3 separate regions of the Homo sapiens genome follow, and regions 2 and 3 are each linked to region 1. The links are contacts of gene promoters, found by promoter capture Hi-C in blood cells and fetal thymus (Javierre and others, 2016). All regions are on one chromosome and are shown on one strand. Each heading gives the region's core, a stretch centred on a gene start or on the middle of the fragment in contact. The rest is flanking DNA. Distances are from core to core; before and after follow the strand shown. Region 1 holds the start of DUSP21 (dual specificity phosphatase 21). Region 2 overlaps KDM6A (lysine demethylase 6A). Region 3 overlaps KDM6A (lysine demethylase 6A).

The links. The method cuts DNA at HindIII sites, captures the fragments that hold promoters and counts their contacts. A CHiCAGO score of 5 or more calls a contact.
Region 2: a contact is called between a fragment that was not itself captured here and the fragment with the promoter of DUSP21 in region 1, in 1 of 17 cell types (erythroblasts). The highest score is 6.1, in erythroblasts.
Region 3: a contact is called between a fragment that was not itself captured here and the fragment with the promoter of DUSP21 in region 1, in 1 of 17 cell types (erythroblasts). The highest score is 5.2, in erythroblasts.

What each region holds. Positions count from the first base shown.
Region 1 is chrX:44,841,495-44,845,448 of GRCh38, forward strand. DUSP21 (dual specificity phosphatase 21) reads left to right here and starts at 2,527. Exons shown (of 1, transcript NM_022076.4): 1 at 2,527-3,394. The coding sequence starts at 2,639. The coding sequence ends at 3,211. The HindIII fragment of the contact is 1,701 bases long and covers 1,019-2,719 here.
Region 2 is chrX:45,058,389-45,062,538 of GRCh38, forward strand. It overlaps KDM6A (lysine demethylase 6A), which reads left to right. Exons shown (of 30, transcript NM_001291415.2): 11 at 618-716; 12 at 859-1,078; 13 at 1,634-1,768; 14 at 2,221-2,376; 15 at 2,936-3,031. Among named protein-coding and RNA genes, the nearest start is that of DIPK2B, 140 kb to the right of the region's middle. The HindIII fragment of the contact is 2,123 bases long and covers 1,836-3,958 here.
Region 3 is chrX:45,085,912-45,089,935 of GRCh38, forward strand. KDM6A (lysine demethylase 6A) reads left to right here. Exons shown (of 30, transcript NM_001291415.2): 25 at 1-68; 26 at 3,832-4,019. Among named protein-coding and RNA genes, the nearest start is that of DIPK2B, 110 kb to the right of the region's middle. The HindIII fragment of the contact is 1,029 bases long and covers 1,883-2,911 here.

The DNA of each region.
Region 1 (3,954 bases), core at 1,277-3,776:
AGTCAGGCTTCTCAAGAGAGAGGAATGGCATGAGCAAAGGTAAGGAAACAGGAATGTACATTTTGTATTTACCAAAAGCGTTTGCTTTGTTTGGTCAGAACTGAGGGTTTATATAGGTGAAAATGCCTAACACACTATAGATTCTTAATAAAAATCTGATGAATAAATGAATGAATGAGATTTGAAAGGCAGGCTTAGATTAGAAAGGGCTTTGACTACTGAATTGAGAAATTTGAACATTAACTAGTTCTTAACATCCAGGGTGTTTTCCCAGCGGTGGAAAGAGAGTGTGTTATTGGGCAAGTCCATTGCACATTTTCTTCACTAAATAACAAGGAAAATTGCCTCCATCAGTGTGTTAAAAAAAAAAAAAAAAAAAAGGAAAAGTAGAGACAAGTGGGATCTGAAAGTGACCTGCTTCCAAACTCAAGGGGAGAAAACGTTATCTATCCAGGAAAAGCTCCATAGCGGAATTTTAAAACATCCAACATCCCTCAGACTAACAGGTGTCACAGAATATGAAGAATAAATAAATGAATCTATTTAACACGGGTCATGCTTGTCTTTGAAAATAGTGTCTGAGGCCGGGCGCGGTGGCTCATGCCTGTTATCCCTGCACTTTGGGAGGCCGAGGTGGGTGGGTCACCTGAGGTCGAGAGTTTGAGACCAGCCTGGCCAACATGGTGAAACCTCGTCTCTACTAAAAATACAAAAAATTAGCTGGGCATGGTGGCGCGAGCCTGTAATCCCAGCTACTCATGAGACTGAGGCAGGAGAATGGCTTGAACCTGGGAGGCGGAGGTTGTGGTGAACCAAGATCGCGCCACTGCACTCCAGCCTGGGCAACAAGAGCAAAACTCCGTCTCAAAAAAAATAAAAATAAAAAAAAGAAAAGAAAATAGTGTCTGAAATTATTTTGTTAATTGTACTTAGTTTTAAAGTTTAAGAAGTGTATACTTATGAAATAAGTAGACTCCAATACTAGTTTAGGGCCTCCACATTACTACATAGATTACAAAGCTTCTCCGTTAGCCCAGCTGAGCTGCCCCCAACAAACAGTTTTCATATTTATTTAGTATTCGTGTTCTATTTTCTTCCAGATAGCTTTGTGGGGACTGACAATTTAAGTAATGCAAAATAATTTGATTATGACAACTGAGAAAAGAAACGTGTGTTGTGTTTTGAGGTTATCATTTCCTTGACCATCATAAGCAGCCTGGTATCTATTTCATCTTTGTTCGTAATCACAGCACACCTTTGAACACATACCAAAATGATGATGGAATGAGAGCAAAGTATGTGAGTCAATTGGCTACTCTGTGAAACAATTTGTTAGTTTTAGGCTATAGTTCTTTTCAATTTTCAGCCAAATTCTATAAAAATCTTAGCTGGAAGGAAATGCAAATGTCAGGTTACATTTTAGAAATTAATTTTTGGGCTGAGTGCTGTGGCTCGTGCATGTAATCCCAGCACTTTGGGAGGCCGAGGCCGGTGGATCACCTGAGGTCAGGAGTTTGAGACCAGCCTGGCCAACATGGTGAAATCCTGTCTCTACTAAAAATACAAGAATTCGCCAGGTGTGGTGGTGCGTTCCTGTAATCCCAGCTACTCGGTAGGCTAAGGCACAAGAATCACTTGAACCCAGGAAGCAGAGGCCTGGGACTCTCCAGCCTGGGTGACAGAGCAAAACTGTCTCAATTTTTGGCCCAATTACCATGTAGCATTAACTTGTTTCAGAATGTTTAATATTACTGGGAAGACAGCATCGGTAGTGGTCAAAGTGATTTGTAGTTCACAAAGCATGTAGGCATTTTTTTTTGAAGAAAGTAAACAAAATAATTTGAACTGTTGTTTCAGGTAATAAAATAGACTCATGCGGTAAGTCATTTGAGCTGTATGTACAAATGGACTATGACACAGCTAAATTAGTCACAACTGTCCACCACAGGCCAACTTCAAGATAAAGGGCTATATATCAGTTAGCAATGCTCTCTTACAACCAGCCCTGATGTGTTTGTAAGCAGGAAAATAATTTTATGGTTACAATCAACAAAGAAGTATCAGGCCAGTCCACCAAGCCCAGCCAAATCCCATATCTCGCTCCAGTTTTATAGAGATTAGCATATCACATGAGCCAAATGCTGTTCCCCAACTTAGAATGTGATATTGCTATTTTGCAGGGAAAGTGTAAGCCCTGTTCTGCAACACTGATGAAATAGAAGTATTCATAGATCTTGTTTAACGTGGTCCAATAATTGAAACATAAAATAGATATCTTGTAACAGAACATTTTTAAAAGTCAAGAAAGATAAGAATTAGGCCTTGGAAAATAAATGACTATGAAGAAAGATAAAAAGAAAAGAGACTGGGGTGTCTCTGAAGACCCTGCTTAGAGGCCCTGTCCTCCTTGCGGCAAGCGGCCATTGCCATGGAAACCGGAGCCGCAGGGCTATCTGTCCGGGATTGTGACGCCCAGATGGGAGTGGTGAGAGGAGACAGAAAGAGGGTGGTGGCCGATAGCTGGTCCTCTTTCTCCAACACCTAGCCTGAGACTTGGCGGCGCGGCTGCTATCCTGAACTAGCTTGGTAAGTGTTGTGTCCCGAACCAGCGTAGAGAGACCTCGGACCAGCCGCCTTGATGACAGCATCCGCGTCCTCCTTTTCATCATCTCAGGGTGTCCAGCAGCCCTCCATCTACAGCTTCTCCCAAATAACCAGAAGCTTGTTTCTCAGCAATGGTGTGGCCGCCAACGACAAACTCCTTCTGTCCAGCAATCGCATCACCGCCATTGTCAATGCCTCGGTGGAAGTGGTCAACGTATTCTTCGAGGGCATTCAGTACATAAAGGTGCCTGTTACCGATGCTCGTGACTCGCGTCTCTACGACTTTTTTGACCCCATTGCTGATCTTATCCACACCATCGATATGAGGCAGGGCCGTACGCTGCTGCACTGCATGGCTGGAGTGAGCCGTTCCGCCTCACTGTGCCTTGCGTACCTCATGAAATACCACTCCATGTCGCTGCTGGACGCCCATACATGGACCAAGTCGCGCCGCCCCATCATCCGGCCCAACAACGGCTTTTGGGAACAGCTCATCAATTACGAATTCAAGCTGTTTAATAACAACACCGTGCGCATGATCAACTCGCCGGTAGGTAACATCCCTGACATCTATGAGAAGGACCTACGTATGATGATATCAATGTAAGCCATCCCGGCCAGCCCCTGACATCTGCCATCGATCTTGCACCAAGACTGAACTTGAACACTGACATTTTGTTAGTAAAGAAAACCGGATGGTGCCTTGTTAAAGGGCAAGAAAAAAGGGAGGGGGTTGGAGTTTTGAACGTAGTAAGCCTTACCTTAATAGAATTAAATTCATGAAACATAAGATAGTGAAAATATTTTTTATATTGTGAGGTCAAGCTATTGGGGCCTGGCTGGAACCAGGGTGGGGCAAGTAATGCTCAGCTCACATAGACCTGCCAGCAGCACCCAATACATGTGGCAGACCTGGAATCCTGAGCCCTGCCAGAGGCTGACTAACCCAGGAGTGAATCCCCTAGAATCTCACCCGGTTCTTTCCAACCCAAAGTCAAAGCCTTAGACATCTTGGCATCCCTTGCACTTCTCCCAGTAAGTGCCAACCTAGTGGATAAGTGGCTTTCATTCAAGCTGTGCTCCAGGAGCTCTGGAGGAGTCTCAGGCTACCCTTGCCCACCTTCAATCACAGTGGCCCATCTCTGGTTTTCTAGATCGGATTTATACATTAGTTAAAAAAAAAAAAACTAGTTTTTTAAAAGACCATTCCACTCCATAAAGTTTAAAAATATTGTATTTTTTTGACTGCTGTACTTGATGGCAAGTTCTCAAGGTGTCTTTGGTGATCTCCCACCGGCCTTTGTGAAAAGGGACATAGTCCTTTTCCCAGGGCATATACTGAGAGAGAAC
Region 2 (4,150 bases), core at 1,647-4,146, 220 kb after region 1:
TCGTTAATCTTACCTTGCTAACTTTACTAGTCATAAAATATTATACTTTATATTATTTTTACTTTTTACTTTATACTATTTTTGATACTTAGTTTGAGATTAACTATGTCTTACATGTGCATTTTTTTTATGAATTAAAGAATTATTGCCCTCAGTGTTGTTACTTGGGAAAGGAAAATTGAAATCTGATACAGCAAATCTTACCAACGTATATAGTGTTTTTGTTTTTAACTCTGTATTTTGACCATATAGGAAACTAGAGGTCAAGCTGTATAAGAAGAGTGGAAGAGTGCCGTGTGTGTGTGTGTGCACATGTGCATGCAGCTCTCAGTATTATAATATTGAAGTGATATGTCCCCTAATCATTTTAATAGAGTTCATTAATGCAGCATGCTTTTTAGCACCTATAAGACAGACTATAATATGGTTTGTTGGAGGGCAAATTATAATATTCATTATAGTTAACAAGTATATACATACATACACATAAATATATTAACTTATTAGGGTTTTAAAAAAATTTGCTGTGATATATAGTCCATCCTTTCAGCCGATTAATTTGTTTCAGTATTAATGGAATTCTCTTGATTTTTTTTTTTTTTCCCTTCCCTTCTCAGGTGCTATTCAAGTATTGGGAAAGTTCAGGATGCCTTTATATCTTACAGGCAGTCTATTGATAAATCAGAAGCAAGTGCAGATACATGGTGTTCAATAGGGTAAGCCTTTGTATAAAAATAGTAGTAATTTAATTGATATACAAAGATGGTTGCATCACATATAGTACTTCATAGTTTAAATCATTATAAAACCAAGCAGTTCTTCTGAGTTGACTTATTTTTTCTTAATTTCTCTTTCCAGTGTGCTATATCAGCAGCAAAATCAGCCCATGGATGCTTTACAGGCCTATATTTGTGCTGTACAATTGGACCATGGCCATGCTGCAGCCTGGATGGACCTAGGCACTCTCTATGAATCCTGCAACCAGCCTCAGGATGCCATTAAATGCTACTTAAATGCAACTAGAAGCAAAAGTTGTAGTAATACCTCTGCACTTGCAGCACGAATTAAGTATTTACAGGTAAAATTTTTAAATGGCAGTTTTTTAAAGCCACATATTTCCCCAGAACACTCAGGCAGAAGGAGGGTGGCTGGAAAGTTTGTCTAGTTGTGTTTTGATGTCTATAATCTGTTTCCATATTTTGTAAACATACCATAGCTTGTAATATTATTTTACTTTTCATTTTAAGTAAGATATGCAGTATTTTTAAAGATGCTCTTTTGCACATTTACTCTGTTGATGCATATTAATTTACATAATTTTTTTCTATGTACTGTCTACATTTTTAAGTTGTCATAGCATTTTATAGAAAACACAAACAGTCTTTCACTCTTGCTTGGAGTTTCTTGAGAAGACAGCTATGAGAACTCTGAAAACAGAGCTCAGCTTTGTTTTGATTCTCACAAAGGTTTATATTCCGGTTACCCTGTTTATACTTAGTGTCTTCTAAAGCCCCAAATTTAGAATCTATTTTCTTTTAAAAACAATTAGCTATAGCATTTAGGAAGATTTAGTGGACTTGCTCTTACTCAAGTAGGCTTGTGTTAAATTTGCTTTTTACATAATTTTTCCTAGGCTCAGTTGTGTAACCTTCCACAAGGTAGTCTACAGAATAAAACTAAATTACTTCCTAGTATTGAGGAGGCGTGGAGCCTACCAATTCCCGCAGAGCTTACCTCCAGGCAGGGTGCCATGAACACAGCACAGCAGGTGAGAAGTTGGGTTATGTTCTGCAGGTGCCCAGCTTTAAGGGTTCTTTTCAATTCTCTAGTGGTCAAGCTTAATTTACTAAGCACAGGAGGCTTTTAGTAATGAAAAGCCTTTTGATTTAATTGCAAAGGGAATCTAGATCAAAATAAAATTCCCTCTAATATGGGAAGAGATTTTGGGGTACCAACTTAGAACCTTTGTGCATTTTCATGATTTTGAAGGAGATTTCTTAAAATAATGCTACAGTGGTTTGTTTAATTTTTAAGGCAAGTTTTTCAAAGGAAGGTACACATTATTCCATTGATGAATCATTTAATTTTGATTTTCAATCATTGCAATCAGCGATGTCCACATAGCTTTGAAAAGTATGCAGCTTGTAAAGTTTTATAATTTGAAGGAATGAATTAAGAATATATAGAACCCTATTTTTGTCTTCCTTCTGTGATTCTTAGGCATGTAAACCTCATCATCCAAATACTGAACCTGTATTAGGCCTCAGTCAAACACCAATTTCACAGCAATCCTTGCCACTACACATGATTCCTTCTAGCCAAGTAGATGACCTGTCCAGTCCTGCCAAGAGGAAAAGAACATCTAGTCCAACAAAGGTATATGTTTTAGAGAAATAGAAAATCCCAGTCAAAAAAGAAGTTTCAGCTGCCCTGAAATTGTGCAGTTTGAACATTTCCTGTCCTTTATTTTAAATTTGTGGACATCAAAGAGTGAAAGGTTTGAGTTTTTCCATCCCAAACCCTTAGTATCATATTAAATATAGAAAGTAGGGATAAATTTGCATTCATCAAATCATTTTATTCATCTCCCTGCCGTTAAGATCCCAGCACACTTTTCATCATCACTTTTTACTGACATTGAAATAAATTTAATGTTGGATCTAGTGGACAGTGTGGTGTTTAGGCTAGCCGTTTGGGCCATAGTTTGAGGGTGGGCCTTTTTGGGTGGCTTATTAAATAGTCAGTAATTTTTAAATGTATGATTTCTAAGTTTAATATGCATGTAAAATTATTTTTTAAAGAATTTAATGTTATAACATCTTTTTAACATGTAAATATTCCAATTCATAGTCATTTGGCCTCCTCTAACCATTATTATTAACTGTGGATTTAACCAAATATTCTTTAATTTTTTTTTTAAATCGATTTTCCTCAGAATACTTCTGACAATTGGAGTGGTGGACATGCTGTGTCACATCCTCCAGTACAGCAACAAGCTCATTCATGGTGTTTGACACCACAGAAATTACAGGTATGTAAGATGTTTTTGACAAATTGTTTATTAAAAAGGAGTAGAGGTAGCAAACAAGTATTAATTTTTTTTTTTTTTTTTTTTTTTTTTGAGATAGAGTCTTGCTCTGTCACCCAGGCTGGAGTATAGTGGCACGCTCTTGGCTCACTGCAACCTCCGCGTCCTGTGTTAAAGTTATTCTTGTGCCTCAGCCTCCAGAGTAGCTGGGATTACAGGCACGCACCATCACACCCCGCTAATTTTTATATTTTTGGTAGAGACTGGGTTTCGCCATGTTGGCCAGACTGGTCTTGCACTCCTGACCTCAAGTGATCCACCTACCTCAGCCTCCCAAAGTGCTGAGATTACAGGTGTGAGCCACTGCACCCAGCCCTAAGTATTAATTCTTATAAGTTAAATGGCAGTACATTCAATTAAAATGCACAAAAGTAAAATGAGCCTGCATTTACCAGAATAATGAAGAGCATTCATTCTTGTTTTTAATTTCTTTTTTTTTTTTTAAACAGGACATGGTTTACACTACATAAAGTATAAATATAGGGTATATAGGGTAAAGTTTTCTTCTAACTCTGGCCCCTACCCACTCAAAATGTGGCTGGTATTACTAATTTCCTATCTATCATTCCAGAGGTATGTTATGTATGTACAAGCAAATATACATCCCCCCCTTTCTCACATGTATTATTATTTTTCTTCTTTTTTACACAAATGATAGGATTCTTATTTGCTGTTAACAACATATTTTACAGACTTCTGCATGTCAATATGTGAAGAGCTTCCTTGTTCTTTTATGGTTACATCATATTTCTTTATATAGATGTAACACCTTTATTTAAGCAGATCAGTAATTTTGGACATTCAGGTTGTCTTCAGACTTTGCTTATTCCAGACAGTGCTGCTTTTAGCATACTTGTCAATATATTTTTAAGCTTCAAGAGTTTTCTCTGTGAATACCTAAGAATACTGTATGGATGAGTAAAATTTCATGCCCATCTATTACAAAGAACTCATAGTAAATCTTGTTCAGATGAATGCTTAGTTCATTCTTATATTTCTCAAGCTTATTAAAGGACTTCATCTTGGAGTGTGTGACTGTTGGTCAGAAGACAGTGTGTTTGA
Region 3 (4,024 bases), core at 1,147-3,646, 240 kb after region 1:
CCAGGTGACTGTGAATGGTTTGTTGTTCCTGAAGGTTACTGGGGTGTTCTGAATGACTTCTGTGAAAAGTAGGTTTCCAAAGTAAATTTTCTTAAAACATATATTAGAAAGCAGTAATTGTAAACGACAACTTACCAAGCTGGATCTCCTAATGGATACATTGCCAGTATTCACTTACCATTCAGCGAAGAATTCATTTTAAATTATTTGATTCCAAACCTCATATTTTGTGTTATTGGAAATACTTTAAGAAAGATGCCATGAAACAACTTCATGCAGTAGTAGTACCCATGAATTAAGAAGATAGAAAAGTTGAGTTATTAGTTTAATTTTTAAAATGATGCATACTTATTCATTTGAAATGTGTGTATTCCAAGAAAAATTGTTTTGTTATAAATGGTTTTAGGAAGTAGAAGGAATTCTTTATTGAGCACCCGTATAGGCTGTGAATAACTCAAGCTTGACCATAATACCTTTTGCCATATCATGATATAAATTCTTTTTAAACTGACAACTTTTTCTATGAAGAAATTTTATAAAATGTATTATTTATTTTTTATTTTTAAATAGAGATGGGGTTTCACCATGTTGCCTAGGCTGCTCTTGAACTCCTGAGCTCAGGCGATCCACCTGCCTGGGCCTCCTACAGTGCTGGATTACAGGCATGATCCACCACATCCAGCCCAGATTTTGTTTTCTCTAGTTGAAAGAACTTGGATAGTTCCTTTCCTTAAGATCCCAGAAATAGCTTTTATTTACTTCTGTGTCTTGTGTTAAAAAGTACTTTGGAATTTTTTTTTAGTTGGTTTCAATTTGATCATTTGTCTAGATAGAACCTTACTCTCTTCTTTTCTAGAACCTTATTCTCTTCTTTTCTAGAAAGTACTTCATTATATAAGGACCTGGTATTTTCATTTAGTAATAACATTAGCAAATTAGTATAGGATGAAAATATACATTATATACACATTTGGTGTTATGCCCCCACCCCAATTAAAGGGGGAAAACACCCACAGAAAACATTTACATGAGATTACTTTGAAAACTAATTATACACATATTCCACATACTACTTTATTTTTATTTTTTCCTTTTTTAAGACGGAGTCTTGCTCTGTTGCCCAGGCTGTAGTGCAGTGGCACAATCTCAGCTTACTGCAGCCTCCGCCTCCCAGGTTCAAGCAATTCTCCTGCCTCAGCCTCCTGAGTAGCTGGGATTACAGGGGTGTGCCACCATGCCCTGCTAATTTGTGTATTTTTAGTAGAGACAGGGTTTCACCATGTTGGCCAGGCTGGTCTCGAACTCCTGACCTCGTGATCCACCCACCTTGGCTTCCCAAAGTGCTGGGATTACAGGCGTGAGCCACCACGCCCAGCCCCATACTAACTTCTAATTTCTTACTTTGGTTTAAGAATCTTTGCTGTAAATATTTGGATTTAGTAAGAAGTGCATCGTAGTTGAAAAACAAAAAAATATATTAATCCACAGTTTCCTTATATAAAAGCAAGAGATAATTACCTTATGTTGTCTTCTCTATTCATATATTGGTTTCCTTCAATGTAAGAAAGCCAAAGATACAGAGTTTTAAAGCTTCTAATGTACTGATGAAATAACCTGATTACTTTAATCTGTACTTTTTTTATGGACCAGTAGCAGCAGAGAAAGAACATTGTTATATGGGAAATCTCCATTGTGCTATAGAAAGATTTTTATTTCTTAAACTTTGAGTTAATACTATATTGTTGCAGCTATAGTACAGGAATCCTTGTTCATTGTTTCTGAGTAGGGACTGGCTATTTTTAGGGTGTAGTTTTGTTTCCTATCTAAATGGAGAGGTGTCTTGGGAAAAAAGATAATTAGAATAAGCAGATGATGTCCAAAAAGCTTGAGCGTAGGGATAATAAAAATATCAAGTTAGAAGGAAGGGTTAGGTAAATCTAATAACTCAGTTGTGAAAGTAGTACTTGCTTCTTCAGCATTTCACTGTAATTTTGTTTCACATAAAGATTGTTGCTTTTGATAGTGACTGTATACTGTATCTGTAGTTTATTTTATGGCTTTAAATAATACCTGTCTTGAAATAACCATTCTTTTGAATATATGATTAAAATGATGCATGCTTTTTGGTAAGTTTGATTTTTGGGGCGGGGGGTGTCTGTTTGGGATTACTTGCTTGCTTTTGGATAAAAAGTTTTCTCTAATTTTGTAATGGCAATACATGGGTGAAATAAGGCTAGGATTTGTGTCTATAGCCATTTTTTGCTTTATAGGCAACTTTTTCTGGACTGTATCTACTTGGCCTTGTCACACACAATAAGCCAATCCTTATCCCTTTGCAGTTAGGCTACCATTTGCACTCTAGTCTAAACTTTCAAGAGTAGCCTTGCATTTTTCAAGAGAGAAAAAGAGAGACTAAGGTTCTTTCTAGATCATAGTTTGGCGATTTCTTTTCCATGAAGGGCCAGATAATAAATATTTTCACCTTTCCTGGTCATGCGCTGTCTGTCACAACTGTGTCATTATAGCACAGACACAGAGATAGTACGTAAGTGAATGGACATAGCTGTATTCTAATGAGTTTTTTTTACAGAAACAGGCAGTGGGCTGAATTTGGCCCGTGGGCCATAGTTTGCCAACCCTTGATCTAGATAAAAAATTAAATTTAAACCAGTAAAAACAATTGTAAAGTATACTTTATCATGTGCTATAGCACAAGACAAATAAAGTAAGATTATTTCTTAGATCTTAAGGAAAGGAACATTTTTACTGTGTAAGTTCTTCCTTCCCCAAAATATGAAATTTGAAGTGGTTAATTCAATTTTATAAAGTTCTTTTATGGGAAAGGTTGCTATGTTGTTTAAAAAGTACTTCATATCATGATGGAGAATAAGAAGCCAGATATTAAAATAAAAGCTTAATAATATCTAAGGAATGTTTCCAAAGTATATTGGTAGTAGTGGTCATGATTATTTGTGCATGTGCGTGATTGTTTGTTTTTGCTGAAGTTGTTTTGAACTGCATAGTTTTAATCAGCTAATCATCAAACTATATGGAGTCTGACATCCAGTCTCCTTTTCCTCAGAAATTAAGGGAAGTTCCTGGTACTTGTATTGCCACAGTGTTCCTGTTTATGGATTTAAATGACTTGATGTCAACTCCACCTTCCATTTACCTTTTAGGGATTTCTAGGTGCTCCAGGGAGAAGGCTTCAGTCAAAAATAGTCTTTGTTGAAATGAAATTGAAAGTGAATTTATGTGTTACTTGAAAGTAGCTTTGGATTTCATTTGGATCTTTGAAAAATCAATTTAAGATGGTAATGCTGGGCCGGTCCACTTACTACAGGTATTATAATTCCTGTAATCCCAGCACTTTGGGAGGCCGAAGCAGGCGGATCTCCTGAGGTCAGGAGTTCGAGACCAGCTTGGCCAACCTGGTGAAACCCCGTCTGTACTGAAAATACAAAATTAGCCAGGCGTGGTGGCAGGTGCCTGTAATCCCAGTTACTCCAGAGGCTGAGGCAGGAGAATTGCTTGAGCCCAGGAGGCGGAGGTTGCAGTGAGCCTAGATGGAGCCACTGCACTCCCGCCCAGGCAACAGAGCAAGACTTTGTCTCAAAAAAAAAAAAAAAAAGTAACACTGATCTTTAGTAATTTAGTACTCAACCATAATTACACACTCTATATACATACAGCAGATCTTTTTGCACAAGCAATTATGTTTCAATAAAATGAACAAGTGTTTATTTAAAAAATTTGTGACATTTTCTTCCAGTCTTACTAGGAGCTTCTTAATGTAGTTGATCCATTTGCATTATTTTTTTCTTATTTCAGAAATAATTTGAATTTCCTAATGGGTTCTTGGTGGCCCAATCTTGAAGATCTTTATGAAGCAAATGTTCCAGTGTATAGGTTTATTCAGCGACCTGGAGATTTGGTCTGGATAAATGCAGGCACTGTTCATTGGGTTCAGGCTATTGGCTGGTGCAACAACATTGCTTGGAATGTTGGTCCACTTACAGGTATT